Regions from separate parts of the Homo sapiens genome. Here regions 2 and 3 are each linked to region 1. The links are contacts of gene promoters, found by promoter capture Hi-C in blood cells and fetal thymus (Javierre and others, 2016). All regions are on one chromosome and are shown on one strand. The core of a region is centred on a gene start or on the middle of the fragment in contact, and the rest is flanking DNA. Distances in the headings are between cores, read along the strand shown. Region 1 holds the start of ENOX2 (ecto-NOX disulfide-thiol exchanger 2). Region 2 holds the start of MMGT1 (membrane magnesium transporter 1). Region 3 holds the start of THOC2 (THO complex subunit 2).

Region 1 (2,715 bases), core at 113-2,612:
GTTCTTCCTCCTCTATGTTCCTATAGAACCCTATGTAGACTTCTTTACAGCATTTTGCACATTGTATACTCATCTATTCCTCCCCCCAGATTCTCCTCTACTACAACTCCCCTCACCTGGATTTTGAGCTACTTGAGGGTAGGGACTATTTTTCCAATTCTGTGGCAACAGTGCCTAGCCCAGAGCTTTGCACAAAGCACTATGCTGAATAAATGGTTGAATTTATTAAATCGTCTTCCTCCTTCACTTATCTTTTTAAAATATTGGGCAATTACCTCAGCAAAATGCAATTCCCCTGTCTTTCCCTTCATTTTACTCGTGAGTCGAAAAGTTGTCCTCATCAAGAAGTTGTAGTAATTCAACTGTAACAAGGCTACAAGGATTCATCTCTAACAGAGAAAAAAAAAGGTCAAAAGTTGGGAGTGAAATTAGCCCTAATAAACAACCATTTTCCTCAACCTTTAAGTCACTTGGAAGTGCTTGGCATTCCCCACCTATGTCTTTATCCAGCTCTTGTAACATATTTTTACTCAAAAGGTTAAGTTTCTTAAAGACACATATAGTTACTCGTTTGTACTTAAGTTGTATTGTCTATCTGTTCTAAATTGTTATTTATAGCAGTTTATGTGGCCACTGTTTTTCATGGCAACAACATAGCTTCATTATGGATTAAATAGGCTTCTTCTGGGCTGGTGTAGATCACATTTCTATGCCTATTTATGACACTGTTTCCAGGGGGAACTATAATTTCCAATTAGAAAAAAATATATACATTCTTCCATACCTTTCAAGTGATTTTAATGCAGGTGGTTCACAAGGAACACACTTTAACAATTTTAAAGGACTATAACTCTCAATTAAAATTCTAAGCTTACCAAAGAATAAACATCATCTTTTGAAAAACACTTAAAACTCAATAACAATTTCAAATCACGATAGAAAGTGCTTCCCGCAAAATGCTAAGAGCTTAACCGACATGAAAATAAATCTAGAGCCTTCGTCTGTCCCCACAAGCACAAACCCATAACCCCAAGAGAGATTCTCTAGACAGTGCACCCAAACTACAATACCCAGAATACCCTTCCCCGTCTGAACGCTGGGGACAATCGGAAGGGGAGGGGAAGAATTGTGCGTATAGAGAAATAAGTGTCCCGCAACTCCATCTCCCATAATTCTCGGTCCTCACTTGTGTCTGTCTGCCAATGTCAACACGAGTTACCCCCAGGAAGAACAGCCTCCAGCGACCTCAAACTACATTTCCCATGAAGCCATGGGCTCGGGCCTCCGGCTTCCCCGGTGACCAGTAGCCAATAGGAGACGCCGCAGTGGGCACCCTGTGTGTGAGAGTCCAGCCTTGGGCCAGAGTGCCGGGTCTAGGCCTGGAAGCGCGAGGCGGGCATTTCGGAAGAGAGTGGCGCGGCGTGGGGCGCCGCGAGGGCACTACGAGCCCAGGAACTGCCGCGCCGGCCCGATTTTCCGCGGCTGTATAAGGACTAGCGCTTCGGTAGCCGGGGAGCTGGAGGTCAGAGAGGCAGAAAGCCCCGGTGGCCGTGGCTGGGGACTGTGGGACTGAGGGGGCCTAGGGAGGAGGGTGCTTCCGGGGCCGCGGTCCTCAGCGCCTAACTCCACCCAGCTCCACCTCTGCAGGGGAGGGGGTATCGGGACTGGGAGTCGGGGGTGGGCTTTTGAGCTCTAGGCGCCAGTTCTCTTGAGCCCGGGAGCGCGCTGTCTTTGCTCTTTTTTTTTTTTTTTTTTGGTCCAACTCGCCCGCCCCTTTTTTTTTTTCCCACGACGCCGCCCCCCTCCCCCTGGCTCTGTGCCTCCTCAGAGGTCCGAAGTTGGGGTTTGCGTCCAGGGTTTTGCCTAGGCGGTGACTGGACTCTAATTCTTACCGCAGGAATTGGGTGATCTCTTTCCTCTTTTCCCTCAATTTGTATTTCAGGTTTGGGCACATAACCCTCCCTGCGCTACACTCCCCATTTTCTTTGGGGCATGGGAATTCCTTGCCACGCTCAGGGCGTGACTTTTTTTTTTCAAACTTTCTCTTTTTGCCTCCTTAATTGATCGCCATCTCTTTACTGGCCCCTCAGCCACCTGCCACTTCCCCCACCAGGTCTTTGAAGTGGGGAGAGTTTCCCCTCAATTTCTAGAAGGGATGGGAAGCAAAAGAGGGAAGGAATCTTGCTTTTGAGAAATGTGTGTTTAAGGTTCAGTGCAGGGTTCTGGTGAGAGTAAAAGGCAAGTTAGACTGGTTATAAAAATCCAGCGCTTTAGGGGTTTCCAGCAAAGACTGATAGCACTAATGTTGACAAACATTTAGGGGGCACACCTTTATTCTACAGAATAAAGTAGACCGTGTGAAACAGACCATATTAATCATTGTATTATTACAAACGTGTGCAAAAAACGCTAAGAGGGGTCAGTGGAAGAGCATACTGATGGGGGTGGTGAGTTCATCTATGGAAGTTCAAGCCTAACCCGGGAAGTGCTGAAGCCCTCATCCGGCTTTCAGGCTTTGTGAAGGAGGTGAATTTTAATCTGGGCTCCAGCAGAGTACAGGGGATTTGAAGTTGTCAAAGAGGAGGGAGAAAATGCTTCCTGCTACTGAGATTGGACTTTGAGAAGGGTAAACAGAAGAGGGAGCACTGTGAGACAGGTGGGCTTGCCTGATTGGAATAAAAGATATCAGCACAAATATACTGGGAAATAAATAGG
Region 2 (2,886 bases), core at 304-2,803, 5.1 Mb before region 1:
TCCAGTGGGGAAAGACAGACAGTAAACAGTAACACAACAAACATAAATAGTTAAATTATATAGTATGTTAGAAGGTGATATAAAAAGTAGAACAGAATAAGGGGATCAGGAATAGGAATTTTGCACATTTAAAAGGGGTGGTCAGGATAGGACGCATCTTTGAGCAAAAGCAAATTGATGCAACTAAAACGTAGAATTCTGATTGGGTTAAAGGAAAAGAATGGTGATCATACTTTGCATTTACCTTGTGATATGCAGTTTACAAAGCTTTGCCACTCAGTCAGGGGTCACTGGAGGAACTGGTGCAGAATTTGGAAAAAAAGGATGAATTCCATTTTAGCCATATTACGTTTTAAGTGCCACAGGAAATAAATGCCTATCTGGTAGTCAGAAATGCAGCCCTGGAGCTAAGGAGAGATATTTGTGATAGAGATGTCGATTTGGAATCACTGTAATACCTTTGCTGGCTGAAGCGGTGGGAATGAATGGGTGAGCTCCCCAGGGGACAGCAGAGTGATGAGGTCAAGGGGAGAAGCTCACTATTAAATGTCTACATTTCAGGAGATGAAGACAAAGAAAAATGGGCAGAGGAGTATACATTTTACCCGGATCAGAGATAGAGACAAGGCAAGAAGGCTGCGTTATTAGCATTTTAAAATTTCCTCTTTCATTTCTTCCTTAATGTAAGCTGGTTCTTTTCACGACAAAACACTCCCCCCGCGCTACACCTCTTTTTGCGCGAATCTTTCTCCAGGACCTTAAAATGGTTTACTGAGCACTTCCCGCGAGCCAAGTATTTGGGGTTCCAGATCCTGGGATTTTGTCCTGACACTGCCTCCTCGTTTTAACACCCTTGCCTCCTTCTGCAGTGCCAGTTTCCAGGGAGCTGAAGCACAGGAAAGGCCTACAGAAAACAAAAGGCACAGTTTCACAAAAAGCCAAAACCAACCAACCCACAAAACACAACTGTCAGGGGTCTATATCCAGCACCTACCGCCTTTCCCCAACGCCCCCAGCCCCGCCCCTCGGCCCCACCTCCTCCCGCCCCTCGGCCCCACCTCCTCCCCGCCCCCTCGGTCCCACTCCTCCGCGCCCCCTCGGTCCCACCTCCTCCCCGCCCCTCGGTCCCACCTCCTCCCCGCCCCCTCGGCCCTCACCCACTCTCCGTCCCCTCCGCCCCGCCCCCTACGCCCCACCCATCCTCCCGTAGGCCCCGCCCTCGGCCCCACCTCCTCCCCGCCCCTCGGCCCCACCTCCTCCCCGCCCCTCGGCCCCACCTCCTCCCCGCCCCTCGGCCCCACCCATCCTCCCCGCAGGCCCCGCCACTCGACCGCACCCACCAGGGCCCCCCCCCCCCGGCTACGCCCACCCACCCACCCACTGGCCCCGCCCCTCGGCTACACCCACCCTCGTGCGGGCCCCGCGCGTCTTCCCCACCCCGCCCGTCTGCCTACCCCGCCCCTCGCCCCCACACGTTCTCTACGCAGGCCCCCGTCCCTCTGCCCCACCCTGTTCTCGCCACTGGCCCTGCCCCCATTTGCCGGCGCCCTTCCTCTTCGCTTCCCCGTAGCTCCCGCTTTCGCCTCTTCGTTTATGACTCCGTTGGGCTCCGGCCCTCCTAGAGAGGCCTCCATAGCGCAGGTTCGTGGGTTCTCGCGGACCTTTTTCCGTGTAGCTTTCTGCTTCTTCCCGGCATTCCTGTTTCCGTTTTCTCACAGCCCTCTGGCTTTTCCACCACTGAGACACTTTGCGCTCAGGACTTCAGTGACGTCATCTTTCTGCGGCGCGCGGACACCCGCCGGTGGAAGAAGAAACAGCTCCGCCGTCCTTCGCTTCTTTTGCTGGGCTGCTGCTCCTTCGGCATCATGGCGCCGTCGCTGTGGAAGGGGCTGGTGGGCATCGGTCTCTTTGCCCTAGCCCACGCCGCCTTTTCCGCTGCGCAGCGTAAGTGCCTGGGGCACGGGGACCGCTTCGGTGTGGAACCCTAGGGGCGGTGTGTGGGCGCACTTCTAAGGGACCATCGGACCGAGTGTCAGATTAATGGTCCTTTGAGACCTTACAGTTTGGGGTGACTAAGAAAATCAGTGCAGGAGTTCCCAGTGGAAGGTTCGGAGTTTGAATTTGGAGAGAGTGTGGCACCTGAAATTGCAGGAAGGTTGGAAGGAGGTGTCTGGGAGAGGGTTCAGAATAGGAGTCTCCAGGAATCCAGGACAAGTGATGTCAGATCCAGCATGGGGCAGATCAGGCACAGTTGTGAGATTGAGGACTCTGGTTGCTCATGGTCCCACGACAACCAAGTGGACAACATCTTGGGCACTCTTGGGCTGTCCAGGCAGAGACTGAGTAGTTAAGTGACCGATTGCCTCAGGGAGGCACTGTGGTACAGGAGAAAGAGCACTGGACTGGGAGTCTAAAGGACTGGTTGTTAAAAACTTGCATTACCGCTACATCTGTGTGACGTTGGGCAAAAGATTTGTGCTACACTGCGTTATGAAATTCAGTTTTGGGTCGCTGTTTGAAATTGCGCTGTGTTTAGGTGCTAGAGATACAGTGATGCCCTGAGCCAGTTCAAAGTCTAAAGGAAAACAAGTGGATCAAGAAGTAGTTACAATAAAGTGATATGCTAAAAGTATATAAGGATGCATGGAAGCAGGGACAGTCATATTTTGGGGGAACTGGGAGGTTAAGGAAAGTATCCTAGATCCTTGCTGCTTACAGTGTGATCAACAGACCAGCATCATGAGCACCACCTGGCAGGTAATTAGAAGATACTCAGGCCAGACCTGTTCAATCAGAATCTGGGTTTTAATAAGATCCCAGGGTGATTTGTATGCGCATTAGTTTGAGAAACACTGTCCTGGAAGAGATTAGGATACACTGGAGTAC
Region 3 (2,700 bases), core at 2-2,501, 7.2 Mb after region 1:
GGGGCGGCTGCCGGGCGGAGGGTCTCCTCACTTCTCAGACGGGGCGGCCGGGCAGAGACGCTCTTCACCTCCCAGACGGGGTCGCGGCCGGGCAGAGGCGCTCCTCACATCCCAGACGGGGCGGCGGGGCAGAGGCACTCCCCACATCTCAGACGATGGGCGGCCAGGCAGAGACGCTCCTCACTTCATCCCAGACGATGGGCAGCCGGGCAGAGACGCTCCTCACTTCCTAGACAGGATGGCGGCCGGGCAGAGACGCTCCTCACTTTCCAGACTGGGCAGCCAGGCAGAGGGGCTCCTCACATCCCAGACGATGGGCGGCCAGGCAGAGAGGCTCCTCACTTCCCAGACGGGGTGGCGGCCGGGCAAAGGCTGCAATCTCGGCACTTTGGGAGGCCAAGGCAGGCGGCTGGGAGGTGGAGGTTGCAGCGAGCCGAGATCACGCCACTGCACCCCAGCCTGGGCACCATTGAGCACTGAGTGAACGAGACTCCGTCTGCAATCCCGGCACCTCGGGAGGCCGAGGCTGGCGGATCACTCGCGGTTAGGAGCTGGAGACCAGCCCGGCCAACACAGCGAAACCCCGTCTCCACCAAAAAAATACGAAAAACAGTCAGGCGTGGCGGCGCGCACCTGCAATCGCAGGCACTCGGCAGGCTGAGGCAGGAGAATCAGGCAGGGAGGTTGCAGTGAGCCGAGATGGCAGTACAGTCCAGCTTTGGCTCGGCATCAGAGGGAGACTGTGGAAAGAGAGGGAGAGGGAGACCGTGGGGAGAGGGAGACGGGAGAGGGAGACGGGAGAGGGAGAGGGAGAAGGAGAGGGACCCGATTATTTTCTTTTATCTCAGCAGTCAGCAGGGCGTAATGTAATTTATTTGCTTATATTTATGGCTTTCCCAAAGACTATTATTTCTCTATTCCCAGTGTCTAGCACATATTAGGTGCTTGAAAAATGCGTGTTTGTATTAGTGGTTAGGGGTAGATATTACGGAAGAAGATGAAGTCTACTTGTTGGCCTGTGGATGGCATTTCTCTGTTCTAATGGGAAGTAAGGCCGAAGACTTCGGAGGGCGCAACCCGTGTAGTAACCTCGCAAAGGGGCCCGCGAGTCTCCACGTCGTTGGCTGCCTTGCCTCGGGTTTCCGCTGGGTGGAGAGGAAAGTGGGGCGGGAAATCGAAAAACGAACTCTCAGCTCCCGGCATTCCTCGTGGGCGGTGCTCCCCTTTGACCCTTCGCTCGCGTGCTACACATCCGGGCTTCTGCTACTAGTGAGAGGAAGATGGCGGCCGCGGCTGTGGTGGTTCCCGCAGAGTGGATAAAGAACTGGGAGAAATCAGGGAGAGGCGAATTGTGAGTGTTCGGGCCGGAGGCAGGCGCACTGCCGGGCCGGGCCAGGGCGTCAGCTGCACTCTCACCTGTAGTGGGAGGTTGAGGGGGAAAGATGTACCCCCTCCCCCACCCGGGCGGCGGGCGTGGATGGTCGTCTAGGAGTTTCGAACTCGGGGAGAGGTGCTGTTTACCGCCGCGGACCTCCTTCCTTCCCTGGCCTCCCAGAAATCGCTACTGCCTGCGGTAGCTCGGCTTCCTTTAGCCTCTTAGTAGAACTCTTATTCCGCCCCTGCAGGTCTCCGCGCTCCCTCTTGGTCTCTTTTTGTGTCCCCCTCTTCGCTTGATCTCACTTGGCTCCTTTATCTTTATGGGGCTGAGCCGGGGCAATTCGGACTTTCCATCTCTCTCTGTGCCATTTCTTCACTCTGCACCCGTTGGACTCCGCAGTTTGGAGCTTGGCGCCTCCTCTGCCTGAAGTCCAAGGAGGGCGAACCGTCCCGGATTCCCCTCCCCTCCTCTTCGCCCGCTGCCGCGAAGCCCGGGGCGCCGCGAAGAACCCGGTTTGGCACCTCTCGCCCTCCCGGGGAGCGGTCTCTCGACTGTCCCGGCCTCGCGTAGCGCCGTGGGGAAGTGTGGCAGGGATTGCCGCTTTCCCTGAAGAACCACCGACATTTCTTTGCTCCGTCTTTTCACCTTAGAGCTATTTCGGGTTGGATTCAACTTTCGTCATTAAATGTTCCCTAAACCCCATTTTATCCTGGGACTGCAACTAATTCTGGCAGCTCTCCAAGCTTCTCCAGTACCTAGGATAACGCGTTTCCTTTAGTCGTGAAACTTTCCCCCGTAACACCGAAAACAGTAATTTGCCATACCCCTAGTCTTCTCGCCCCCACGTTAGAGCGCTCCCTCCTCCCCTTCCCCTGGAAGGAGTCGTTTAAGCAGCAAAGCAAACCTCAGATATAAGAACAAATATTAATAACATCTCATTTCCTTCTCTGGGTCGCTTTTAGATGCTAAAGCTCAACCCTGGATGAAATTAACCCTCGTTAGCCATTTTTGTCGTCCTTGCCCACCCCTCTCCATTTCTAGTAGCCAGTTTACCGTGGCTCATGCTAAAGATTCAAATCTTTGTAACTTCGTTACTTGGAACGAAACACGAGGAACGCGTTGCCGGATCCCGCGCTTGTAATAGTGCCAGCCTATGTGGCTTCCTCCCCCGCACCCCCCGCACTGCTGTATGAAGTCTTAACAGTGTGAGCTCTAGAATTCCCTAAATAAGCGGCTGTCTTAGCCACTTAAGTAGCTGAGTGACCTTGGGTAAGTTCCTTAACCACTTGGACTGTTTCCCCTTGAGTAAATTGGGAATAATA

Evidence for each region. Contacts are between HindIII fragments. The CHiCAGO score rates a contact against its expected background, and 5 or more counts as called.
Region 2: the fragment with the promoter of MMGT1 here is called in contact with the fragment with the promoter of ENOX2 in region 1 in 1 of 17 cell types (activated CD4 T cells); the score reaches 6.1 in activated CD4 T cells.
Region 3: a contact is called between the fragment with the promoter of THOC2 here and the fragment with the promoter of ENOX2 in region 1, in 3 of 17 cell types (total CD4 T cells, non-activated CD4 T cells and naive CD8 T cells). The highest score is 8.9, in total CD4 T cells.

Annotation. Positions count from the first base shown.
Region 1 is chrX:130,901,856-130,904,570 of GRCh38, reverse strand. It overlaps ENOX2 (ecto-NOX disulfide-thiol exchanger 2), which reads left to right and starts at 1,362. Exons shown (of 15, transcript NM_006375.4): 1 at 1,362-1,522. RefSeq lists enhancers at 1,147-1,336, 957-1,476, 1,347-1,616, 1,477-1,996. The HindIII fragment of the contact is 1,854 bases long and covers 873-2,715 here.
Region 2 is chrX:135,972,655-135,975,540 of GRCh38, reverse strand. It overlaps MMGT1 (membrane magnesium transporter 1), which reads left to right and starts at 1,553. Exons shown (of 4, transcript NM_173470.3): 1 at 1,553-1,944. The coding sequence starts at 1,866. It also overlaps a transcript of SLC9A6 not described here. RefSeq lists a silencer at 1,355-1,464 and an enhancer at 1,475-2,004. The HindIII fragment of the contact is 2,640 bases long and covers 270-2,886 here.
Region 3 is chrX:123,731,603-123,734,302 of GRCh38, reverse strand. It overlaps THOC2 (THO complex subunit 2), which reads left to right and starts at 1,251. Exons shown (of 39, transcript NM_001081550.2): 1 at 1,251-1,351. The coding sequence starts at 1,281. RefSeq lists an enhancer at 1,236-1,315. The HindIII fragment of the contact is 10,140 bases long and covers 1-2,123 here.